Linked DNA regions of Homo sapiens: regions 2, 3, 4 and 5 are each linked to region 1. Evidence: promoter capture Hi-C in human tissues and cell types (Jung and others, 2019). All regions are on one chromosome and are shown on one strand. The core of a region is centred on a gene start or on the middle of the fragment in contact, and the rest is flanking DNA. Distances in the headings are between cores, read along the strand shown.

What was found. The method cuts DNA at HindIII sites, captures the fragments that hold promoters and counts their contacts. A contact is called where the count stands out against the background at its distance.
Region 2: a contact is called between a fragment that was not itself captured here and the fragment with the promoter of ZNF700 in region 1, in 2 of the 25 tissues and cell types used here (bladder and mesenchymal stem cells).
Region 3: a fragment that was not itself captured here is called in contact with the fragment with the promoter of ZNF700 in region 1 in 4 of the 25 tissues and cell types used here (bladder, dorsolateral prefrontal cortex, heart right ventricle and 1 more).
Region 4: a contact is called between the fragment with the promoter of ZNF844 here and the fragment with the promoter of ZNF700 in region 1, in 2 of the 25 tissues and cell types used here (adrenal gland and small bowel).
Region 5: a fragment that was not itself captured here is called in contact with the fragment with the promoter of ZNF700 in region 1 in 14 of the 25 tissues and cell types used here (H1 embryonic stem cells, IMR-90 fibroblasts, adrenal gland and 11 more).

What each region holds. Positions count from the first base shown.
Region 1 is chr19:11,922,971-11,926,588 of GRCh38, reverse strand. It overlaps ZNF700 (zinc finger protein 700), which reads right to left and starts at 1,482. Exons shown (of 4, transcript NM_144566.3): 1 at 1,316-1,482. The coding sequence starts at 1,378. It also overlaps a transcript of ZNF69 not described here. RefSeq lists a silencer at 1,020-1,219 and enhancers at 1,610-1,719, 1,770-1,819, 1,267-1,839, 1,996-2,785, 2,786-3,576. The HindIII fragment of the contact is 4,963 bases long and covers 1-3,618 here.
Region 2 is chr19:11,783,963-11,788,141 of GRCh38, reverse strand. ZNF441 (zinc finger protein 441) reads right to left here. Exons shown (of 4, transcript NM_152355.3): 4 at 4,064-4,179. Among named protein-coding and RNA genes, the nearest start is that of ZNF491, 12 kb to the left of the region's middle. The HindIII fragment of the contact is 7,851 bases long and covers 1-4,179 here.
Region 3 is chr19:11,757,356-11,761,399 of GRCh38, reverse strand. No RefSeq gene overlaps it. Among named protein-coding and RNA genes, the nearest start is that of ZNF441, 7.6 kb to the left of the region's middle. The HindIII fragment of the contact is 5,499 bases long and covers 1-4,044 here.
Region 4 is chr19:12,062,130-12,066,082 of GRCh38, reverse strand. It overlaps ZNF844 (zinc finger protein 844), which reads right to left and starts at 1,352. Exons shown (of 4, transcript NM_001136501.3): 1 at 1,207-1,352. The coding sequence starts at 1,209. RefSeq lists a silencer at 908-1,087 and an enhancer at 1,178-1,267. The HindIII fragment of the contact is 18,413 bases long and covers 1-3,953 here.
Region 5 is chr19:12,126,646-12,130,816 of GRCh38, reverse strand. No RefSeq gene overlaps it. Among named protein-coding and RNA genes, the nearest start is that of ZNF20, 12 kb to the left of the region's middle. The HindIII fragment of the contact is 9,523 bases long and covers 1-4,171 here.

The sequences.
Region 1 (3,618 bases), core at 233-2,732:
GGTGAAACCCCATCTCTACTAAAAATACAAAAATTAGGAGGGCATAGTGGTGCATGCCTGCAATCCCAGCTACTCAGGAGGCTGAGGCAGGAGAATCACTTGAACCCGGAAGGTGGAGGTTGCAGTGAGCCGAGATCAGGCCATTGCACTCCAGTCTGGGCGACAGGAGACTCCGTCTCAAATAAAAACAAAGTACCTTTCCAGCTAAGTGAAGTGACCGGCTCTTGGCCAACAGGACCCGCAAAAAACCCTGAAAATTGAGTGCCTCTGTATGACAGGATGGGAGGTGAGACAGGTCTCCTTATACCCTCTCCCACACATTCATGTAAAAATAGATAGAATGGAAAAACAGACTGCTTGTGGCAAGAAGATACTAACTTACAAACAAAACCTAAGGCCACGCAAGGCAAAAGTAAAGTCACGCCTCAGAATTCATAAAATCTAGAGAAACAGGTCTGTTTTCTGGCTGGGATGGAATCAAGTGGCAGATAACAGACCCCCTTCCTTCCTACCTCCTCCAAACTTTAGACAAACTTCACACTCTCAACCAGCTGCCACCTACAGAATCCCTCAACCACCTGTGCCTTCTAACCCCCCTTCCACAGGTCCCACCCTTTCTGCCAATGGAACTTACACCTTTCAGGCACTGATTCATCATTTTCCCTGCAATTCCTGTCTCTCTGAAATGAATAAAACCAAACTGTCTTGAGCCGCCTCGGGACCACTTACTCCAGGCTGCTTGGGGTTGTGTTTCCCTCGGCCAAGGTCTCTCCTATTCGGCTCTGAATAAACTTCTTTATTTTACATAGTTTGGCTTTTTCCGTTGACAAACCACAACCCAGGACGGGGTGTTTCTCATTCGTGAATCGCTGTTTGCTCAAATGAACTCTTTAATTGTTAACGTACCTCAGTTTAATTTTTAACAGGAGAAAGTGGGGACTGGGGGCCCCACAGACCACTGCTCCTCCCACGCACGAACCCCACACCCGAGTCAGGATGCCTCCATGACCCTCCCGTTGCTTCCGCACAATCTGGGGAGACGCGGGGCTGCGGGAGCGGAACTGCCCAGAGAGGGCTCCGGGGCAGGGGCCGCGGCCGCAGTCGCCGCGCAGGGACGGGACAGGACGCCCGGGTCCTGGCTGCTGGCCCAGCCCCGTCCAGCGGCCAAGGGGACCGAGGGCCGAACTGCTCAAGGAGGACTCGGTCCCAGACCCCGGAGTCGCCCACAGGGAGGCCCGGGTCCCGCCACAGCCGGTTCCCGCCTGTTCCAGGCAGCCCCTCCCCCGTCTCACGACATCTGGTCCCGCACACGCACCATTTCCCGGCTTTCAGATGTACCGGGGTCCTCTCTACAGCTCCTGTGACTACAGCAGGGCATAGCGCAGGCGACAGAGCGACAGAAGCCTGGGTACAGGCACCAGGTCCCTCTCGGGCTGGTCTGACCGGTTACCAACCGCCGCCCGCGCAGCGAGGAAGGTGAGGAAAGCGACCCCCTCCATTTCCGGATGAACTGTGGGCAGTGCCACGCCCCAGCACCTCTGATTGGATGAAATACTAGGTCCCGCCCCCCACATCTGAGTGACAGCTGAAGCCCTGGGTATCAGGCCCCGCAGAGCCAGACTGACGGATTCTAGCCACAGCTTCTCTAAGGGCGAGCTGCTTTCTGCACTCTGGTTATTGGATATTTGCATTTCAGCCAAACTTGCTATTGATAGAAGAGAACACTAGCGTCATCCTCACTCAAGGGACAGTCCCCGCTCCTTCGTTCTGCACGGGGTCACAGGAGTGTGCAGGGAATTTCAGACTCAGTGTCCATAGGAGCCAACTGCTGGCCTCAGAGCAGCAGGGGAACCGAGACCAGGCCAGGCACGACTGCACCAGGAGGAGAGGCATATGTCCTCGAGCGGGCCGGAATTGGGGATGAGGCGTGGCCAAGCCTTGCTCACACACCCCCATCCCCTTGTGAAAATGCTTCCTCCTTTCAGATCTTCATTTTCACCAGCAGGAAACTCTCACCAGGTTTTGTTTCTGACCTAAGTAAACTGTCAACTTCATGAACCCTTTATCCAGGTGACGCCACCAAACAATTCTGTCTCTAGCTCTAGCCTGATCTTCACACATTTTCTTTTCTTTCTTTCTTTTTTTTTTTTTTTTTTTGAGACGGAGTCTTGCTCTGTAGCCCAGGCTGGAGTGCAGTGGTGCGATCTCGACTCACTGCAAGCTCCGCCTCCCGAGTTCACGCCATTCTCTTACCTCGGCCTCCGGAGTAGCTGGGATTAAAGGCGCCCGCCACCACGCCCGGCTAATATTTTGTATTTTCAGTGGAGACGGGGTTTCACCGTGTTAGCCAGGATGGTCTCGATCTTCTGACCTCTTGATCCGCCCGCCTCGGCCCCGCAAAGTGCTGGGATTACAGGCGTGAGCCACCGCGCCCGGCCACACATTTTCTTTATCTATACAAATAACTCTGACCCCAACGACCCCATGCATGTCAAACCCCAAACCCTGCCCAGAAGACAGCTCCAGAGGTACAACACCAGAAAGGACAGAGACGCCACAAATGCGTCTGCACATGGGTCTTCTGCTTTCCAGGGCTCTGCAGCTTCTCGGAATCCACACCCTTTCTGGAGCTGCTCTGAGCAGCTGGAGGCCACTTGTAGAAGGGGGTGGGCTGCCCGCGAAGCCCCCAGGGAAACTCTCTTTCCCTCCCTTTGCAGGCTGCAGAGACTGTCCTCAACGTGGAATCACTGGCCTTGGGCTCTGCTGCCCCCTGCAGGTTATTCAGCTACTTCTCACCCCATCGATTAGTTTCGCGAGACAAACACCTTCAATCCCATTGTGTAAATAAGACACCAGCAGAGTCCCTGCTCTCCTCCTATGCTTATGTATAAAGTGGGGGAGGAAAAATCTAAGATAACTTAAGGGCATTTGAAAGACTTCCAGATCGCGGTGGAGGTGGCAGCTGAGGGACTCGCAGTCAATGACACTGCAGCACCTCCAGGCCAGGCTGGTGGGAGAGAGGGTGGAGAGCTGGAGATGGATGTGGATAGGTGGAGGGAGCTGCCCTGGGAACTGGGCTCTGCAGCAGTGCGGCTCTAGGGCCCGGAGCCCGGGAGAGCAGAGATGGGGGCTCCCAGGACAGGAAACTCAGGGAGGAGAGAGTCGGGTGGCTTCCATGGGACGGGGTGCTGTTGCAGCTTGTGTGAGCCAGTAGCTATCATAACTAAGCCCAATCGGGACGTGAAAACTTGGATTCCGTGGGAATTTATGAAGAGGAAGGCTCTGATGACAAAGAAGTCATCGATGAGGAGGGGGATGAGGGTCACTGGCAAGCTTGCTTCCTTATGGAAAGAAAAGTGAACACCCAACTACTGCTGCAAAATGGGATCAAAGGATGAGACTCTCGCTGTCAGGGAATAAACTGCTGCAGAACTCTTAGAGATTGCAAAGACCTTTCAACAACAGCCTGGGAGGCCAGGTGCCATGGCTCATGCCTGCAATCCCAACATTTTGGGAGGCCAAAGTGGCAGGATCACTTGAAGCCCGAAGTTGAAGACCACCCTGAGCAGTGAAGTGAGACACTCCCATCTCCATAAATCTATTTTTTAATTAGCCAGG
Region 2 (4,179 bases), core at 1,644-4,143, 140 kb after region 1:
CTGCAAAACTTTGTCTCTATAGAAATTAGTTGGGCATGGTGGCATGCACCTGTGGTCTCAGCTACTCAGGAGGCTGAGGCAGGAGGATCACCTGAGCCTAGGAGGTCAAGGCTTCAGTGAATCATGATTGCACAACTGCACTCCAGCCTGGGCGACAGAGCGAGACTGTCTCAAAAAAAAAAAAAAAAAAAAAAGAGTGGACATGGTTTAGTTTGAAAAGTCCTTTGGTAAGTTCAAGCCAAAGGCTGAGGGCTATTTAAAAACATTAGTCATGGAGTGGCAGAAAATTGTTTTGTTGTGAATTAGCAAACTGAATGTTGATCACATAAATTGGGTCATTCTTGCCAAACTCAACTATAAGAGTCAACAGGCCAAGGGGGAAAAGCACTCAGGGCACGTACCAATGCTCCAAGCATGTCATTCTCTGCCAAGCTGCTGAAACAGCCAGTTGTATCCTGAAACCGGTTTTATCTAATAGTTACTGAAACAACTTGCTGTGGCTCTAAGAATAGTTTTACTCATTGCCATCATTTCCCGATCAGAACTTTCCAACTCCCAAAAACCTTACTAGTGCCAATGAACTTTCTTGAAGAACCATATGTAACACTTCTCCTTTTCATGAAACCTCCAATGTTCTCTGTTTTTAAGACATACCAAAGACCACTTGGTCTGTGTGTATGCCCTGAATTACAAGTATTTCTTCCCAAATAAAATGTTTTAATTTCAGAAATTCATCTTTGACATATCTGGCTTTCTGACATTAGACACTTCCATGAGTCTACAGTCCCTTTTCTTCAGTTCTACGAACCAAAAAGCTCTGACAACTCTATTTTGTAAGGTAGGCATGAACCTGACATCAAGAAATAAGAGGCTATTTATTGGCTGTTTTGTTCTGTTTCAAGTATTTACTCATTTTGTTGTAGGAATATTAATGAGTTTGATCTCAGAGTGCTGTTTCAGTTTCTACTGAGAACACTACATTATCTATGATATATTAATTATCTCAGCTTCTTACAGATGAAATAACAGGCTCAAAGAGGCGCAGTGACTTGCCCAAGGTTGTTTCACATCTAGAGAGAGTAAAGAGTAGAATTGAGGTCTTCTGCCCCCTTCACTTGTTTTTTGTTGTTTTTTCCTCATTGCACTGTACTGCTTCCTCATGATATACCTCTGAAGACCATCTTGATAAATTCTTCTGTGTGGAAGAGTTTAAGCAATCACATTCATCTTATTTGACATTTTCTTCTATTTGAGACAGGGTCTCACTGTGTCACCCAGGCTGGAGTGCAGTGATGCCATCACGGATCATTGCAGCCTCAACCTCCTAGGCTCAAGCAATCCTCCCACCTCATCCTCTGGAGTAGCTAGGACTACAGGTACATGTCACTATGCCTGGATCATTAGAAAGAAAATTTTTTTGGTAGAAATTAGGTCTTGGTATGTTGCCCAGGCTGGTCATTCATAGGTGTTTAAAGTGTGATAAATGGATGATTTAAGTCTGATAGAACTTTTACACATATTATACATTTAAGCATATACACATGGAAGCTCCTGGGAGTTGGTTATGTTTACATGGTGGAAAAAAAACCCTTCAAAATAATTATTAGTTTGAGAAAAATACATCAATAAATAATTTCTACGTCAACACATTGTTTTTTGTTGTTGTTGTTGTCGAGATGGAGTCTCGCACTGTTGTCCAGGCTGGAGTGCAGTGGCGCCATCTCGGCTCACTGCAGGCTCCACCTCCTGGGTTCATACCATTCTCCTGCCTCAGCCTCCCGAGTAGCTGGGACTACAGGCGCCCGCCAACACGCCCAGCTAATTTTTTGTATTTTTAGTAGAGACGAGGTCTCGCCGTGTTAGCCAGGATGGTCTCGATCTCCTGACCTCAGGTGATCCACCCTCCTCGTCCTCCCAAAGTGCTGGGATTACAGGCGTGAGCCACCGCTCCCGGCCTTGTCAACACATGTTATATGTAAAAAAGCTAATCAAATGTGAGCTTCCAACAATTCCCTCTGCTTCATTCTTCTGACTTTCAACAGATCATGGTTAACACCAAGGGCTCTGTGTCTGAGGTTTCACATGTTTACGTCACCTATTTTAAATGGTCTCAACCTCACTCCACCACCACTGACCCATCAAATCATTTCCGCAGCTAAATCCGAAGTATTCTGTAAATAGCTTTCCCTTTCAAGGAGTCTAACTGGACTCAGGTTGAACTCCCTTGTGGCTCTCTCATGTTCCTTGATTTATTCATTTGAAATTGTCTTCCAGAGCCGGGCGCGGTGGCTCATGCCTGTAATCCAAGCACTTTGGGAGGCCGAGGCGGGTGGATCACGAGGTCAGGAGATCGAGACCATCCTGGCTAACACGGTGAAACCCCGTCTCTACTAAAAATACAAAAAATTAGCTGGGCGTGGTGGCGGGCGCCTGTAGTCCCAGCTACTCGGGAGGCTGAGGCAGGAGAATGGTGTGAACCCGGGAGGCGGAGCTTGCAGTGACCCGAGATCACGCCACTGCACTCCAGCCTGGGTGACAAAGCGAGACTCCGTCTCAAAAAAATAAATAAATAAATAGTCTTCCAGGAGAGATTGTGATATACTAAGTGAGGACCTCATCCATTTTATTTGCTTCTCTTCTCCCTAACCTGCTACACTACTTCTTCATTGAAGGCACAGAATATTTTAAACTGACCATCACTTGCTGTAAATTCTGGAGATCTCAGCACAATTCAGAAATCCACACCCTAAAGGAGTTATGTGTGGATGTTAATGCCATCCTCACCACGAGAGGGAGTTCGTTGTCTCTTTTTCTGCAAATCGGTGCAAAGCAGTTTTTTTTTTCTTTTGAGACGAAGTTTCGCTCTTGTTGCCCAGGCTGGAGCGCAATGGTGCGATCTCGGCTCACTGCAACCGCTGCCTCCCGGGTTCAAGCGATTCTCCTGCCTCAGCCTCCCGAGTAGCTGGGATTACAGGCGCCTGCCACCACGCCCGGCTAATTTTTGTATATTTAGTAGAGACGGGATTTCACCATGTTGACCAGGCTGGTCTTGAACTTCTGACCTCAGGTGATCCACCCTCCTCGTCCTCCCAAAGTGCTGGGATTACAGGCGTGAGCCACCGCGCCCGGCTTTCTTTCTTTTTTTTTAAATCTACGGGATAACACTTCATAAAAGTAACAGTGACACTATTCAGTTTGGTTCATTTATATGATTTGACTTTTCATAGGTTGTTAAGAAAGCAGTAAAGTCTGTGAACCTAATCGGATTTCCCTGACTCTGAAAAGTGTATTAAAAAAAATGTATATATGGAAAGGAGTAACTGAGGTGACAGAAAGACTTGCTGAGGAGGTGACATGTGGGATGGGACCTGAAGTAATGTATTAGTATAAAAAGTCAGGTCAGAGGATTCAAGGAAGATGGCAGAATAAAAAGCATGAAGAATCTGTATCCCCCACCTGGATTTGCATTGGCAGAATCCAACTCATGTAGCTATTTTGAAACTGCGGATACTATTAAAAGCTTGCAGCTTCCAGGGAAATAATTGGCTAATAAAATTGGGTTAATTTCGGTCAATTTCAACTCTTAGTTGAGTCAGCAGCCCTGACTCATTCCCCCTCCTCAGCTCCATGACAGGTAGCTATGCATAAGTTCTAACAGCAGTCTGCATGCAGTTTTGGGGGGCCAGGGTGGACAAAAAGGACCTGTCTTCCAAATATTGGGGATCTGCGCACTGCTTGATAATTGTTGCTTCTGATCACAGAGTTACAGACAAAGAAGTGGTGGTGACTGTTGCTGCTGCATCTCTCTCCATTTTTTGAAGGCCCTTCCCCTCCATCTGAAGTGACTTCCAGGCTGGTGCCTTTTATTTTTCCCTTAATGCTTTTATTCCTCTCCTTTTGAGAGCCACTGAAGATTAGGTTGTGCAAAAATAACCATACATGCAGAGAAAATTAGACAGTTACCACACATGCCCAGGGACAGGTGCAACTAAGAAAAGACCTGAGAAGAACTTAAGTTTACACCTTAGGCTGTTCCTCAGCCCACAGACACCTGACAATAGTGTTATTTTAAAACTATCTTATATATTTTCTTTTATTGATACATATTTTACATATATATAAGGTACACATGAGCATTTCTTGCATGCATAGAATGTGTAATGGTCAAGTCAGCGTATT
Region 3 (4,044 bases), core at 360-2,859, 170 kb after region 1:
GAAACCCTGTCTCTATTAAAAATACAAAAATTATCCAAGTGTGGTAGCATGTACCTGTAGTCCCAGTTACTAAGGAAGCTGAGACAGGAGAATTGCTTGAACCCAGGAGGAGGCAGAGGTTGCAGTGAGCCGAGATCGTGCCACTGCACTCCCATCTGGGCAACAAAGCAAGAGTCCATCTAAAAAGAAAAGCCAAAAAACAACAAAAAAAATTATTTATTATAGTTCTGGAACCTAGCAAGTAAGAGGGCTTCATGTGGTGAAAGCCTTCTTGGTCATGGGGGCTGTGCAGAGTTTCTAGGTGGTTGAAGGTATCACATGGAGAATGGGCTGAATGTGGTAGCTCAGGTTCCCTTCTTTTTTAATATGGCCATCAGTCCCACTCCTGAGATAACTCATTAATTCAGTAAGCCATGAATTCATGAATGGATTAATTTATTTATGAGGTCTGAACCCTTAAGATCTACTCACCTCTTAAAGGCCTCACCTTTCATTAGTGCCACATTGGCGATTATGTTTCAACAAGCATTTTGGAGGGGACAAACATTCAAACCTAGCAGTGAATGGCCGGGCGCGGTGGCTCACTCCTGTAATCCCAGCACTTTGGGAGGCTGAGGTGGGTGGATCACGAGGTCAAGAGATCGAGACCATCCTAGCCAACATGGTGAAACCCTGTCTCTACTAAAAATACAAAAATTAGCTGGGCATGGTGGTGTGCGCCTGTAATCCCAGCCACTCGGGAGGCTGAGGCAGGAGAATCGCTTGAACCCAGGAGGCGGAGGTTGCAGTGAGCCGAGATTGCGCCACTGCACTCCAGCCTGGAGACAGAGCAAGACTCTGTCTCAAAAAAAACAAAAACAAAAACAAAAACAAGCAAAAAACCTAGTAGTGAATGATCAGGTATGCTCCCTCTGCCAAGCATATCACAAAAGTTTGAACTCTCAGAGGGAACATAGGAGTTCAGCAGATACCATATTTTTTACATAGTTTAGGGACACTCATCCTCCATTATCGCTTATGTTGGTGAAGCCCCCTAACTAAATTTAGTTCCTAGATATAGTGAAAGGTTCAACTTTGTGAGCAAGCATTTGTAACAATATGCGGTCTCAGGACAGCTGATGTTAACTCTTCTGCCCATTAGGTAGGAGGACTTTGTCACATCAGGAATTACAAACATCCTGTACACATAGATATTAGGGGTGATCTAGGCAATAAATGTCACTCCTTTAACTCACCAAGGAGTGGCATTTTATAATTCGACTGTTATTTTACCAAACACGTTTAATTCTAGCATTAGAATTGCATTCTGGGAGAAAATGAGTTTAGAAAGAGGGTAAGAGTTGGATTACCGTGTCGTTGCATAAATGTTTGGACACCACAGCATCATGTGACATTTATGTAGTGAGTACAGATTCCCAGTGCTGTCAGTTTCAGCTTTCCTCCTCTGCACGTGTCGGGTGTTTCAGGACTCAGTGGCCTTTGAGGATGTGGCTTTGATCTTTTGCCTGGGAGGAGTGGGCTTTGCTGGGTCCATCATAGAAGAGTCTCTACAGAGATGTGCTACGGGAAACCATCAGGAACCTAGACTGTATAGGTAAGGGGGACATCATGTCTTTACTTAGTCAATTACGAATATTTGTTTCTTCGTCACCAATGCTGTTCAAAGATTTAGAATATAAAAGAAATACGTTTGACCCTTGAACAATGCAGGGATTAGGGGCACCAGCCCTCAATGCAGTCACAAATCTTCAAATAACTTTTTTCTCCCCCGCAACTTGACTACTAATAGCCTACTGTTGACCAGAAACCTTACTGGTAAGATATACATTCAATTAACACATATTTTATATGTCATATGCATTACATATTGTTTTCTCACAATAAACTAAGGCAGAGAAAAATGTTAATCAGAAAATCACAAGGAGAAAAAACTATATTTACTATTTCATTAAGTAGAAGTGGAGCATCATAAATGTTATCATCCTTATTGTCTTCACATTGAGTAGGCTGAATAAGAGGAGGGGTTGGTCTTGCTGTCTCAGTAGTAGCAGAAACTGAAGAAAATTTGTATGTAAGGAGATCTATGCAGTTCAAACCTGTGTTGTTGAAGAGTCAACTGTGGTTTGGTGAATAAATCATCCATAACTGCAGTCTACATAAAATCTTACATTTTTAATATAATTTTATTTTTATTTATTATTATTTTTTTTTTGAGATGGAGTCTTGCTCTGTCACCCAGGCTGGAGTGTAGTGGCACGATCTTGGCTCACTGCAGCTTCTGCCTCCTGGGTTCAACTGATTCTCCTGCCTCAGCCTCCCGAGTAGCTGGGACTACAGGCGCACGCCGCCATGCCCGGCTAATATTTTTTTGTATTTTTTAGTAGAGACGGGGTTTCACTGTGTTGCCCAAGCTTGTCTCGAACTCCTGAGCTCAGACGATCCACCCACCTCGGCCTCCCAAAGTGCTAGGATTACATGCGTGAACCACCGCCCCCGGCCTCAATGTAATTTTATAATAATATATAGTGATTCTTCTGGGTCTACATTTTAGGAATGAAATGGGAAGACCAAAACATTAAAGATTAGTACAAAATTCCCAGAAGAAATCTAAGGTAATTTGCCCTAGGAAGAGAAAGATATGTCTTTGGAATAATTCTTAAAGTGACAGGAAATTTTTCACACCTATAATTCCAGCACTTTGAAAGGGTGGGGGGGTGGGGCGCAGTTCAGGAGGTCGGGAATTCGAGACCAGTCTGGCCAACATAGTGAAACCCTGTCTCTACTAAAGATACAAAAAATTAGCCAGGCGTGGTGGTGTGAACCTGTAGTCCCAGCTACTTAGGAGGCTGAGGCAGGAGAATCGCATGTACCCGGGAGGAGGACGTTGCAGTCAGTCGAGATCATGCCATTGCACTCCAGCTCAGGCGAAAGTGCAAGACTCCGTCTAAAAAAAAAGACAGGAAAATTTTAAAACAAGCAAAATAAATAAATAAATAAATAAATAAAAAAGAATAATCCTGGCTTAAATTTATTCACTCTTAGAAAATTTTCTTCAAAAACATACTTAAATGGGACATAGCTGTTAAGTGTGTCTGCAAAATAATTTCCTTGGAAAACAGTACTAAGAATTCCCACGTGAATATTACTGTTCCGATGATAGCCACAGTTGAGTTATCTTGCACAGCATTCAGTCCGTTCATGTTCAAACAGGGCATGACACCTAAGCTTTGCATGATAATGTCAACAATGTAAATTTAAGACCTATTAATATATATAAAAAACACTTATAAACAAACCTGTAGTAATTGTACTTCTCTGTTTTTACAGATATCATATGGTAGACTGATTCTGTAAAAGTAAAGGAGGTAGATAATTTGGAGAAACTTTCAGCCACATTCCAGGTGGTATTGTGAACAACAAAAATCTCCCTTGAGGCCGGGCTCGGTGGCTCACGCCTGTAATCCCAGCACTTTGAGAGGCTGAGGCAGGCAGATTACCTGAGATTGGGAGTTCGAGACCAGCCTGACCAACATGGAGAAACCCCGTCTCTACTAAAAATACAAAATTAGCCGGGCGTGGTGGCACAATGCCTGTAATCCCAGCTACTCGGGAGGCTGAGGCAGGAGAATCCCTTGAACCTGGGAAGCAGAGGTTGCAGTGAGCCAAGATCAGCCATTGCACTCCAGCCTGGGCAACAAGAATGAAACTCCGTCTCAAAAAAAAAAAAAAGTCTCCCTTGAGCAAAACCACGTGAAAGCAGTGTGTGTGGAGAAGTCAGCATGGGTCGTTCATCTTAATTGCTACCATAGAGCTCATGCTCAACACAAGCCACATGAGTATCAGGAATATGGAGAGAAGCCACATACACATAAACAATGTGAGAAAGCCTCCAGTTATTGCCACTTCCTTTGAATACATTAAAGGCCTTACCCTGGAAAGAAACTTAGTGACTGTAAGGAATGTGAGAAAGTACTTAATCGTCTCAGAAGCTTTCAAACACACATGAGAATGCACAGTGGAGATAGGCCTCATAAATGTAAGATA
Region 4 (3,953 bases), core at 103-2,602, 140 kb before region 1:
GCGCCTGTAGTCCCAGCTACTCGGGAGGGTGAGGCAGCACAATCACCTGAGCTGCTGCTCAGGTGGGTCCAGGATGCAGTGAGCCGTGATCGCGCCATGCACTCCAACCTGGGCGACAGAGTGAGACCTTGTTTAAAAAACAATTTTTAGCCGGGCCAGGTGGCTCACGCCTGTAATCCTAGCCCTTTAGGAGGCCGATGCGGGCGGATCACCTGAGGTCAGGAGTTCAAGACCACCTTGGCCAACACGGTGAAACCCCGTCTTTACTGAAAATACAGAAATCAGCAGGGCGTGGTGGCGTGCCTGTAACCCCAGCTACTAGGGAAGCTGAGCAGAAGAATCGCTTGAATCCGGGAGGCAGAGGTTGCACTGAGCCCAGATCGTGTCATTGCACTCCAGCCTGGGCAAAAAAGAGCGAGACTCTGTCTTAAAAAAAAAAAAAAAAATTGTAAGAAAAAAATATTAAAGAAAAATCCCTAACTATAAGCCTTCGGGGAGACTGATTTGAGTGCTAACTCTGTCTCCGTCTTCGGCGTTGCGTGGTCCATCTCGTGTCAAACATTTTCTTTACTGCAATGCCCTGGTCTTTCTTTTTGCAGCACAGGCAGGAAGAACCCCTCAGGCGATTACAACAACAAAGCATCTAGTACACATTGATCATGATGTGAACAAAAACACGACAGCAGTTGCCAAGCTCTAAGCCACAGACAGCAGGGAAAACATTTATCCGCTGTCACAAGTTCTCCACGCTAGGCCAGGCGCGGTGGCTCACGCCTCTATTCCCAGCACCGGGCCTGTTTAAGTTTTAACAGGAGAAAGGGGGCACTGAGGGCCTCACAGCGCAGCTCCTCCCGCACGAGCCCCACACCCAAGGCGGGATTGCCCCCATGACCCTCCCGTGGCCCCGCACAATATGGAGAGGCTCCGGGCTGCGGGCGCGGAGCTGTCCAGAGAGGGCTCCCGGGCTGGGGCCGCAGTCGCCGCGCGGCGACGAGACAGGGCGCCCAGGGGTCCCGGCTGCCGGCCCAGCCGCACCCGGCGGCCGAATGGACCGAAGGCCGAGCTGCGCCAGCGGGGCTCGGGCCCCAGACCTCGAGTCGCCGCGGGGAGGTCCGGGTCCCGGCACAGCCGGTTCCAGCCAGTTCCAACCAGCCTCCGCCTACCCTCCCCCAAGTCTCGGGACTCCCAGCGGGGGCTCACACTCACCATTTCCTGGCTTTCAGGTGACTCCCACGTCCAAAGCAGTCACAACACAGACGACAGGGCGACAGAAGTATGGCGGTGGCAACCGGTCCCTCTCAGAGCAGGAAAAACGGGGTGCCAACCTCACCCGGCGGGAGGGGCCAAAGACTGAGGCGAACGGCAATGTGACCCGCGGATAAACAGTTGGCCGGGCCCCACCCCGGCGACTCTGATTGGGTGGAGCGCCAGGCCCCGCCCCCTGCATCCTGAGTGACAGCAGAAGTCCTGGGTAACAGGGCCAAGCAGAGCAGGACTGACCGCTTCAAGCCACAGTCCAAGGTCAAGTTCCCTCTCTACGCCCTGCTCTTTGAAAATTTGCATTTCGGCCAAACTTGCTCGTCTTAATTACTAGAAGTGGCTCTGTCAATGGTCTGTCCCTGCTTCTTCGTCCTGCACAGTGTCATAAGTGTGTGCAGGGAGTTCCAGACTCTATGTTTAATAGAGGTGAAAGCAATTAAAATATTTTATTCCAAAATATATTTATTTGGCAATTTCGAATGGCTGCAGCTTTGCCCTTGCACAACTGTCTTCTGGGGGGTGAAATTTGCGTCTATGGAGTATTTCCATTAGTGAAGCCATGCCCCCTCTCCCCTTTTCCCTTTCCCTGATCCGGGAGAAATTGAGAGTCTGACACTTTTAAAAGTCTGGAAAGCCGGGCGCGGCGGCTCACGCCTGTAATTTCAGCACTTTGGGAGGCCGAGGCGGGTATATCACCTGTGGTCGGGAGTTCGAGACCAGCCTGGCCAACATGGTGAAACCACATCTCTACTAAAATACAAAATATTAGCCAGTCGTGGTGGCGGACGCCTGTAATCCTAGCTATGTGGGAGGCTGAGGCAGGAGAATCACTTGAAGCTGGGAGGCGGAGGTTGCAGTGAGCCGAGATCATGCCACTGGACTCCAGCCTGGGCAACAAGAATGAAACTCCGTCTCAAAAAAAACAAAAACAAAAAAAGTCTGGAAAGAGGCCAGGCAAGGTGGCTGGGGCCTGTAATACCAGCACTTTAGGAGGCCAGGGCAGGAGAATCACTTTGGCCCAGGAGTCGAGGGCTGCAGTGAGCTGTGATTGCACCAGTACACTCCAGCCTGGGCAACAGAGTGAGACCAAAAAACAAAATAAGTAAGAAATTCTGGTTTTGCTTTTTTTTTTTTTTTTTTTTGAGATGGTGTCTTGCTCTGTTGCCCAGGCTGGAGTGAGTGACGCGATCTCGGCTCACCGCAAGCTCCGCCTCCCGGGTTCACGCCATTCTCCTGTCTCAGCCTCCCGAGTAGCTGGGACCACAGGCGCCTGCCACCATGCCTGGCTAATTTTTTGTGCTTTTAGTAGAGACGGGGTTTCACCGTGTTAGCCACGATGGTCTCGATCTCCTGACCTCGTGATCCGCCCGTCTCGGCCTCCCAAAGTGCTGGGATTACAGGCGTGAGCAACCGTGCCCGGCCAGAAATTCTTAAAAGAAGCATTTTGCATCCATTCTCTCTGTGGGAGTCTTCATCTATGTTGTGGGTGAGTGGCTACTATCTGGGCCAGTGGCGCAAGGGTAAAAGAATTTATCAAGACTGGCCGGGCGATGTGGCTCACACCTGTAATCCCAGCACTTTGGGAGACCGAGGCGGGCGGATCACCTGAGGTCAGGAGTTTGAAACCAGCCTGGCCAATGTGGCGAAACCCCATCTCTACTAAAAATACAAAAATTAGCCGGGCTTGGTGGTGGGCGCCTGTAATCCCAACTACCCAGGAGGCTGAGGCAGGAGAATCGCTGGAGAATCGGGAGGCAAAGGCTGCAGTGAGTCGAGATTGTGCCACTGCACTCCAGCCTGGGCAACAGAGCAAGACTCCATCTCAAAAAAAAAAAAAAAAAAAAAAAGGGATTTACCAAGACAGTTGTAGGTAAAAAAAAAAAAAAAAAAAAAAAAAAAGGCAGATTTATTAAGGAAAATATGAAAGTACCTTGCAAGAAGGCAACAGGCAGAACCAGCAGAAGGGAGCCGGCTGCAAAGAAACAAAGGTTTGCTAGAGATTTTATAGAATGCAACTTGGGAACTTGCATTGTTTTGTCACCTGAAATGTTTGATAAATCAAGGTTTTTGATGGTAAGCAAGAAATTTGTGAGTTATGTACATTATTTGTTTAGGAGGGCTATTTGTTCTGGGCCGTAAAGAAAGTGATACCTATGGCCAGGCACGGTGGCTCACGCCTGTAATCCCAGCACTTTGGGAGGCCAAGGCGGGCAGATCACCTAAGGTCAGGAGCTCAAGACCAGCTGGCCAACATGGCGAAACCCAGTCTCTACTAAAAAATACAGAAATTAGCCAGGCCTGGTGGCGGGTGCCTGTAATCCCAGCTACTCTGGAGGCTGAGGCAGGAGAATTACTTGAACCTGGGAGGTGGAGGTTGCAGTGAGCGAGATGCTGAGATTGAGTGACTGCACTCCAGCCTGGGTGACAAAGTGAGATTCCATCTCAAAAAAAAAAAAAAAAAAGTTTTTCTGGACTTTGAAAAACAAAAGAATTAGCAATATTTTAAACAAAAAGCTATAAAAAGATTATTTTAGTCTTCCCTTAGTTCAGTCTATGTCATAAACTTCTGTTCTGCTCAATAGTTATGAGCACATTAGTACTCAACAACAGTTTTACAGTTTTAAAATTCTTTTTATTTTTTGTTTCTTGTCCACCCGGGTTTTTATTTTTATTTTTATTTTTTTGAGACGGAG
Region 5 (4,171 bases), core at 1,204-3,703, 200 kb before region 1:
CTGATATATTCCCTACAATTTATGGACATTGTTAACCATAACATACCTCAGTTAAAATCTATAAATTCACTTCTTATCAAGGTATATACTATGATTTTATTTATTTATTTTTTGTAGAGATGGAGTCTCCCTGTTTCCCAGGCTGGTCATTGACTGCTGGATCATGTGATTCTTCTGTCTCCATCTCCCCAAGTTCTGGGATTACAGACATGAGCCACCACAATTGGCTACTACTTTTTTAAAAAAATCACCTTGAGTCCTATGGGGCCAATATGTTTTTGAAAACTGAATTTCCTGCCCAGTAAAGAACAAAGTCAGCATCACTATTCCAATCAAGTCTTTCTTTCTCTGGTAACATGCTGTTGATGCAAACTTGTCAGGAACCCTCTTATGCTAATATTATGAAGCTAATGACATCGTGGAAAAGTCATGCATGGAACAATCCGATCATTTCCTTTAAGGTGTCATGGGTGCTTCTCTTCACAAAAGCTTATTTCAGTCTCCCTAGAGTAAAAATCCCAGTCCCAGCAGACATAGAAGCAATCACTGACTGACCAAACCTTAACTATGTGTGATGACATATGGAAAATACCTTGATTTGTGAGATATGAATTTTTTTTTTTTGGAGACAGAGTCTGGAGGACAGTGGTGCAATCTTGGCTCACCGCAACCTCTGCCTCCTGGGGTCAAGTGATTCTCCTGCCTCAGCCTCCCAAGTAGCTGGAATTACAGGCACCTGCCACCATGCCTGGCTATTTTTTTGTATTTTTAGTAGACAGGGTTTCACCATGTTGGCCAGGCTGGTCTCAAACTCCTGACCTCATGTGATCCACCTGCCTCGGCCTCCCAAAGTGCCAGGATTACAGGTGTGAGCCACCATGCCTGGCCAAAAATTCCTTTTTTTTTTTTTGAGATGGAGTCTTGCTCTGTTGCCCAGGCTGGAGGGCAGTGGCGCGATCTCGGCTCACTGCAAGCCTCCGCCTCCCTGGTTCACGCCATTCTCCTGCCTCAGCTTCCCGAGTAGCTGGGACTACAGGTGCCCGCCACCACGCCTGGCTATTTTTTTGTATTTTTTTTTTTAGTAGAGACAGGGTTTCACCATGTTAGCCAGGATGGTCTCGATCTCCTGGCCTCGTGATCCGCCCACCTCGGCCTCCCAAAGTGCTGGGATTATAAGTGTGAGCCACCACGCCTGGCCCAAAAATTCTTATTTTGACTATTCATGTCTTATTTTTGCACTTTTTCACAAAGCAAGGTCAAAAAGCAAAGGAAAAATCCTTTAAGATCAATGTACTTAGGTTGAAAATGTGTTTTTTCTCAGGAAAAACTTGTAATTTATATAATTACAATCCTCAGTTTATTTGCAGCATCACCAAATTTTCTTACATATTTCAAATGTGAACTTAAGATATATATTTTTCTCATTATTTACATTTTGCTTCCTACCTATGGCTTTTTTTTTTTTTTTTTTGAGACAGAGTGTCGCTCTGTTGCCTAGGCTGAATTGCAGTGGCACGATCTCAGCTCACTGCAACCTCTGCTTCCCAGGTTCAAGCAAGTCTCGTCACAACCTCCCAAGTAGCTGGCACTACAGGCGAACACCACCATGCCCAGTTAATTTTTGTGTTTTTTGTAGAATTGGAGTTTCACCATGTTGGCCAGACTGGTCTCTAAACTCCTGGCCTCAAGCGATCCATCTGCCTCGGCCTCCCAAAGTGCTGGGATTATAGGCATGAGCCAACATGCCTGGCTCCTCTAGACCTTTTAAATCTTTTACTCATGATATTGGTCAGCCCACGGTCAAAATAATTCATAAAAGGTATATACAAAAATTCAACACCACAATGAAAGTTAAATTCATTTGTTTAGAACCACTCAAGCAACTCAGGTGTACACAGATAGACCTGTGGCAACTGGTGAACAATTAAATGGCACAGAAGTGGCTGGGTGCAGTGGCTCATGCCTGTAATCCCGGCACTTTGGGAGGCCGAGGCGGGCGGATCATGAAGTCAGGAGATTGAGACCATTCTGGCCAACATGGTGAAACCTGTCTCTACTAAAATACAAAAAATTAGCCGGGCGTGGTGGCGGGCTCCTATAGTCCCAGCTACTCAGGAGGCTGAGGCAGAGGAATCCCTTGAACCCGGGAGGCAGAGACTGCAGTGAGCTGAGATCGTGCCACTGCACTTCAGCCTGGCAAAAGAGCAAGACTCTGTCTCAAAATAAATAAATGGCACGGAAGTTGCAATAATGACCTCTGCTGTGCAGTACTCTCTTGGCAGAGATACACAAGAACTCCAATAAGGCCCTCATATGATATGCAGAACTGCCTCAAACATCATGTGACCATAGAACTTTGCCAAGGACAGTCTTTTTGTACATCTCTGCACCTGGCTTACCCAAAGATTGGACTGGGCGCATTTCTCAAGCCATTGTCTACTGAACGTTCTTTGTAGCGTGTGGGGCAATGACGATTGCCTAGGTGTAATTTCCTAATCGCTGGGGTAGGTCTGGTTTCTGAGGGCCCAGCAGAGGAACTCAGTTCACAAAAATGGCTTCCTGTAGTTTCTGCTTGATACTTCCTATTCTGCCATCTTCCCAGAATCCTCTTTCCTGACTTCATATACTAACACGTCATTTCAGATCTCACTACAGATGTCACCACCTCAAGACACTGTCTTCTTTTCCGCCCCCCTTACCCCAACTTGAAACTCAAGGTCACACTCTCTCACCCATTACTCCTATTTCATTTAGTGTGTAGAATTTTTTCAACACACTTGTCAGAATCTGGAACATAACGTTCACAGGGTTGATTGCTCTCTGTTTAACAAGGTAAAAAGTTAAGTCATGTAGGCTGGGTGCGGTGGCTCACGCCTGTTATCCCAGCACTTTGGGAGGCCAAGGTAGACAGATCACGAGGTCAGGAGATCGAGACCATCCTGGCTAACATGGTGAAACCCTGTCTCTACTAAAAATACAAAAAATTAGCCGGGCGTGGTGGCGGGCGCCCGTAGTCCCAGCTACTCAGGAGGCTGAGGCAGGAGAATGGCATGAACCTGGGAGGCAGAGCTTGCATTGAGCCAAGATTGTGCCACTGCACTCCAGCCTGGGTGACAGAGCAAGACGCTGTCTCAAAAAAAAAAAAAAAAAAGTCATGTAAATTTAAGTGTCACCTTTCTTTTCTTTTCTTTTTTTTTTTGAACCTTTTCACCAACTGTTACACACTTTTTTTTTTTTTGAGACAGAGTCTCGCTCTGTCGCCAGGCTTGAGTGCAGTGGTGCGATCTCAGCTCACTGCAACCTTCACCTGCTGGGTTCAAGCAATTCTCCTGCCTCAGCCTCCCGAGTAGCTGGGATTACAGGCACGCACTACCACACCTGGTTAATTTTTGTATTTGTATTTGTATTACAGATGTGAGCCACCGCGCCTGGCTTACACCCTATATTAAAAAGTATTTCAGGGGCCAGGCACGGCGGCTTATGCCTATAATCCCAGCACTTTGGGAGGCCAAGGCGGGCGGATCACTTGAGGTCAGGAGTTCTAGACCAGCCTGGCCAACATAGTGAAACCCTGTCTCTACTAAAAGTACAAAAATTAGCCGGCTGGGGTGGTGGCCACCTGTAATCCCAGCTACTCGGGAGGCTGAAGCAGGAGAATCACTTGAACCTGGGAGGCAGAGGTTGCAGTGAGCTGAGACTGCAACACTGCACTCCAGCCTGGGCAACAGAGCAAGACCTTGTCTCTAAAATAACATAACATAACATAACATAACATAACATAACATAACATAACATAACATAACAACATAACATAACATAAATACAGTAGAGTAGAGTAGAGTAGAATTTCCAACAAAGTCCTTTGAACCATTTTCCAGAAAGGCAACGTCAATGAAGCTCCCTCTTGTGGTAAGGGCGGCATTAACATCCACACACTGTTGTGACTGGATTTCTCAAAATTGCACAGGGATCTAAGAGTGGAAAAACTCAAAATGTTTTTCCTGTGCATTCACACAATGCAATATCTCTATGACCAAATATGTGGAAGATTTTCTCACACAGCAAACAAGCCATCCATTCTCCACTGAACACCACCTGAGTGTCCTCTAATTCACGTGTCCCCAACTCTCGGGTACAGACGGGTACCTGTCCATGGCCTGTTAGGAACTAG